Linked DNA regions of Homo sapiens: region 1 is linked to region 2. The links are contacts of gene promoters, found by promoter capture Hi-C in blood cells and fetal thymus (Javierre and others, 2016). All regions are on one chromosome and are shown on one strand. The core of a region is centred on a gene start or on the middle of the fragment in contact, and the rest is flanking DNA. Distances in the headings are between cores, read along the strand shown.

What was found. Contacts are between HindIII fragments. The CHiCAGO score rates a contact against its expected background, and 5 or more counts as called.
Region 1: a fragment that was not itself captured here is called in contact with the fragment with the promoter of ZBED5 in region 2 in 1 of 17 cell types (activated CD4 T cells); the score reaches 7.5 in activated CD4 T cells.

What each region holds. Positions count from the first base shown.
Region 1 is chr11:11,896,843-11,899,637 of GRCh38, reverse strand. It overlaps USP47 (ubiquitin specific peptidase 47), which reads right to left. Exons shown (of 28, transcript NM_001282659.2): 5 at 1,945-2,041. Among named protein-coding and RNA genes, the nearest start is that of USP47, 56 kb to the right of the region's middle. The HindIII fragment of the contact is 807 bases long and covers 887-1,693 here.
Region 2 is chr11:10,856,697-10,859,470 of GRCh38, reverse strand. It overlaps ZBED5 (zinc finger BED-type containing 5), which reads left to right and starts at 1,418. Exons shown (of 3, transcript NM_001143667.2): 1 at 1,418-1,609. ZBED5-AS1 (ZBED5 antisense RNA 1) reads right to left here and starts at 1,254. Exons shown (of 3, transcript NR_034137.1): 1 at 1,105-1,254. RefSeq lists enhancers at 1-581, 983-1,072, 582-1,219, 1,373-1,752. The HindIII fragment of the contact is 21,619 bases long and covers 1-2,284 here.

The DNA of each region.
Region 1 (2,795 bases), core at 41-2,540, 1.0 Mb before region 2:
TTCCTGTGAAGTTCCTGGAATGTCCTCAGGGAGGCCCTTACTGTCTACTACCTGAAGCTGTGACCCTCCCCTCCTCTTCTCCTGACAATTACTCCCTCCACATTACTCAGCTTTATTTTCTACCTGGCATACATGATTCTGTGAAATGAGCTTATATATAGGTTTACCTAAGGAAGCTCTAAATGAGGTACTTTCTCTTACTCATCACTCTAATCCTTATACCTAAAAGAATGCCTAGCACACAGTAAATGTCCAATACATGTTTGCTGATGAATAGCCCTGGCTATGCTCTTAATTTCCTCTACAGTGCTGTAAATTTACAGTCCACTTTCAGAGTATTAAAACAGATGGTTAAACAAGTGCCCAGGATCCCCATTCCTGTGCATACTCCCTAAAACAGGCACATTGTCCAACGATCTGGTCTGTGCTAGTTTTGAGAGCAGGCTCTGAACTCTATTTATTAACCTCATCCTCCAGTACTCTGACAAAACTCTGGTTATGCTGATCTCCTGAAGCCCCCCGCAACACACTGTGCTTATTGGCATCCGCTAGTGCACAGGCAGAACAGAGTAGTGAATCCTGGCATCTACTAGGTGCAACTTCTAGCAGTGTGCTTTCAGGCAAAGCTATATTTCTCTGTGCCTTCAGTTACCTTCTTTGTAAAATGCGGACAATAATAGCATAAAATTCATACAGTTACTATGAGAATTAAGTGAGTCTATATATAAAGTGCTCGGAACACTATCTGATACAAACAATGACTAACACTCAGGTAGCCCTTCCTATTATTCACTTTCACTTTTGACAGGCCTCCTATCTGCACAGTGTATTCTCTTTCTTCTCAACCTGGCCAAACCATATCTAGCTTCATGACCTACCTGAAGCTTACTTTCTTCTCCAAGTTTCACCAACCTTTCTTCTCTTTAAACTCTAATGGTATTTGGCTGTCTTTAAATGTTATTTAAACTATTTCAAACATATACATATTGCTATTGTAGAAAGACTTATAAATTACTCAAGAACAAAGATCTTATTACTAATTCCCTCTCTATCCACCAAGTGCCTAGCATTTAAACACTACAGGGCAATACATGCATACAGAATGACAAATACATCAACTTCTGTAAGTTCAGATAACAAGCTGACAGATTAATCTAATGGTGATATAATGTTGAGTAACACAATCAGCAATATTAAAAGTTCCAAAAATAACCTAAATACATATTTACAGTAATTTAAAGATGTTAGTGGAAAGTAACACAAAAAAGGAAAAAAAAATCAGTTTACTCATACTTAAAAGTATCCTTAAAAACTAAAAAATTATGTGTTTATCTTAAAGAAAATATACAAAGCAAAGGTGTGTTAAATGTGTCATAATAGGATATTCATAAAAATAAATGTCTGACTTCAGGGTTTACTTAAACATAGACTTCCTCCATAGAGCATTTTAAACTATCTAATGTATATGGAGTCTTTTAGAAGGAAACACACACACACACACGCACACACACGCACATGAAACAAGCTGTAAGTATTATATTTTAATTAGAAACAAAACTTGCAAGTTAAAAAAAAACTTTGGATACTTAAATTGAGAGGTGGAAGGAGAGTATGGATTTATATATTCGAATTCTCTCAAAAGCAGTTATTTATTTCTTCATAAAGGGTGTTAAGGCTACAAGAGAGGGAAGCTTTTTACCCTACATGTAAATCTCATCAATTTTATCCTTTTGCTCTCTATATACTTCTGATTCTCTCTCCGCACACATTTTTCATATACCTGTTTTTCACAAGATCTTTGTTATTACGTAAGGAAAGAAGTTATATCTTATGGTGTGAGAAATGCCCCAAACTTTAAAATAACTGCAAGAAGATAAATTTTGTTAAAAGTGATATTTTCATTCTTAAATCAATTTTATGTATACAATTTTTTTGAATACTCACTTATATAATGCATTCCTAAATTCAGGAGTCATAAAAAGTGTTTGCAAAAGGCTATTCAAATAGCAAGTCATTGCTTGGTTTACTAGTCCCACATATCCTTTAAAGAGAAAATACAAATGTACATTAATCAGCATTTACATTAAAAATAACAAAAACATAATAAGAATTTAATTCACAGTAAAGATTCAGAGGTTAAAGTTACTACTCATTTGGAAATTATTTCAACTTGTTCAACAGCACCTAAGAAAAGATCCCTTTTCTAATATGTGCTCTAAGTAAGCTTTGTTTTGTAGAAAATGTCAGGATACCTTGTTATAGATATGTCCAGAGGTACACATGGAGATTATATGACATTAACATTTTAAGAGTAATATGTTCAGTAAAGTATGTGTTACTGGCATAGACATAAACTTTTTCCCCCAAAATCTAAACGTTTAAACATATTAAACTTTTAAACATATTAAACTAGATTATAATGGAAAAGCATAAACATATTCACTTTAAACAGCACCACACACATCCAGTGTAGAAAGACTATACAGAACCAGTTACCCCTGTCATCAAGCCCTATAAGCCAATTTCTGTAAGAATGAATAACATACGAGATAAATTCACTACATGCAAACTCACAAAAGCTGAGACTCTAAGTAATGCAGAGTGACTTCATCTGTTTCAACAAGCCTGTCAATGAAATTCTATAGATCAGCATGCTGTGCAAAGGGTGATATGTATCCACACCATCTGTACTTATAGGATTCCAAGAAAAGACCAAGCATGGTAGCTATCTGCTTTTCACTTTGTACTAAGGTTCAAGCTTTTATTTTTTTCACCTTTATTTTAAGAACCGTGTA
Region 2 (2,774 bases), core at 169-2,668:
TAAAGTTCAAATGAAGCTGATTTAATAGAAATAATTTAAAAATAATAATGAGAATATATGGACAGCTTACTATAGGGTGAGATGATGTTGTAATTGACTTTAAAACATTTGGAACTAAATGTCAGTCCTAGGAAATTATGCACTCCTGTAAATTGTGCTATTAAGGGTTAGGTTTCTTTCAACACTTTAGATATTTGATCAGAAGCATATTTAAGAAAAACGAAAGCTGCCCTTGCTTTTGACCCCAAGTTGAGAATTTTCTATCATTGGTGCAGTGCCTGAAAATACGATCCAATCTTCATTTAGTCATTTGTACGGAGTCTGGAAAGGCTAAAACATTGCAAATAATAGGACCTACTCGTACTTTCCCCGCTTAAGAAGCGTATCTATTTCAAGGTGCCTATTTGGAAAAACAGACTCCAGGTCTCCACCACAGAACTTAACACAAAATGAAAGCACACAACCCGCAGCCTTTGGCTGTGGTGTTTTTGAAAACAAGGAAGGGCACAGAACCATGGCTTAAAATACCCGAAAGCTGCAGCCCACAAAAAGAGTATTTCAGGGCGGGTTGGCCGTTCCCTGCAGGCAAACGTTCGGTGCAGGCGGCCGGGCGTTCCTGCGGGGAGGGCGCCACTGTGATGCAAAGACATCAAGCGGACTTTCAGCTTGCCCGTGGACGCTGCGGTGCCGCTTTCCCTATCCAGTCCTGTTCCCGCGGCTCCCCAGCCTACCCCGGGCCGACCAAGAGGTCCGGCGGGGTCTGCGCCGCATCAGCGCCCGCTCGTCAGGCCTAGCCCTCCGCACAGCCAAGGCCGACCAGACCTCTAGACACTCCGTCGTCGGGTGTGGGGCGGAGAAGTAAAGGGCGAGTTTTCTTCCTAGATTCCAGTGGGAACCAAGAAAAGGAGTTGGCAGCTGTGTAAACTGGACCTGGGGTGCGGCCTCCGGGAACAAAAGAGGTGATAAATGCACAGCAGCCGAGGTTCTGCGTGCTCCTTTGGGGCCACTACGAATCCCCGTGAATCACCCCAGCCCGGGCAGAGGGCCAGAAATGATGAAAATGCAGATTCATGGCTTCCACTCCAGCCCTACAAGATCACCAACCGTATCTGGCAGTACCCAGGAATCTGCATTCTCGACAAGCGTCCGCGCCGACGGGGCTAGTGAAGTTTGAGAACAATTGCTTCCTACCCAGCCGCTCCGCTATCACCTAGGTAGCACGGCCGCTGCGGCTGAGGCTGTGACTGCGGCTGCGGCTGGGCCGCGCCTCAACCGAGCTTGGTCCTTTCCTTTGGTCCCGCCCCGCTGCTCAGCGCGGATTGGTGGCGGGACGCAAATCTGGCGCTGATTGGGCGGCGGCAGAGTCGCTCGTGAAGATTGTAGGGTTCGGGTGCTCTAGAGTGCTAAATTTATCTTCAGACCGGCGACCGCGCCAGCCGCGAATCGGATCTCTATGGAGATGGCCTAGGCGATATCCCTGAGCTGAGAGCATCACCCTGTCCCCGAATCCTTCTTTCCTCTCTGTTTTGTTTTTCATTCCCCTCCCTCTCTCCCCTCCCCCTCCAGTCCACGACGACTGGCTGTTGACCCTGTTCAGGCCTCGGTGAAGGTGAGAAGCAGAGCCGCCGCCGCGGCTAAGCGGTGCGCTCTGAAATGGCCGCTTCCTGGAACTGCCTAAGATGGCGGTCGCGGGCTCTGCTGTGGACCGCGGCGCTGCTGTGCAGCCCAGCCGCGGCAAAATCCGTTCTCTCCATCGCTGATGGAGATGAAATAGAGAGATGGTGTTGGGTGCTGAGACGTTTTCATGTGGTCGTTAGCGCAGGCGGCCGCCCGGGGACGCGAGAGAAGACCTGAGGCGAGGGTGGGCTGCGACTGGTAGGGAGCCCCCCAGTCGTGGCAATCTGTGGGCAGCGCGCACCTGTGACAGGGAGGAGCTGAGGGATAGTTGGCCCTGGCTGCACATCCAGGTGACCGTTTAAAAAAGCATTTAGGTGTTGGAAGGAGCATCTGTTCCCACCTTTTTGGCTGGCCTGCACTCAGATCCTGTCCTCCTGACCCTGAGGGTATTGTTCCCAGCCGGAACCGCCCGAAGATAGGGGAGAAAGGATTGTGATACTTGTCAGTTTAACCGGAAGGAGACTAAAGACGGAAGTTTTCCCCGCTCTTCAGGGAGTGGAAAGGAAACTTTACTCTCAAAGGAGTCCAGATTCTTTGTCCTCGAGAAATTCGGGGAAACACCTTCGAAGAGGTGGGGTTGAGGACCTTCTTTCTGAAAACAAAAGCTTCCTACTCTTCTGTGTCCTCTGGCAACGAGAGGGATCCTGATCTTTTACGTGAACCAGCAGCTCCACAGAGTTCTCCGTTGCAAAATCCAAAAGGAGACTGTGGAAGGAGAATCTGCTTTTTTGCTCCCAATAAGAAGCAGGGCTTTATGCTGTTGCTAGTATGAGACCCTCGACTTTCTGGCAGTTATAATCCATTGTTCATCCGTTTCGCTGCATAACCCAACTCCTAGTAACGAGATTTTTTAGTAGTTGGGGAATTAAAAGTATTCAGGAACACCCAAGTAATGGCTAGACACATGGGCTATGCAGTCAAACTTTTTGGGCTCTGAACTTGGTTTTTCACTTACAAGAGGTGTTAGCGAGATGTGTTAACCTGTGTCTGTTTATCTCTAAAGTGGGGTTATTAATAATCCTTGTGTCTTCATAGATGAGATAATCTATATGAGGGATTTAGCAGTAATTGGCATACAGTAAACAATCATCAGTCAT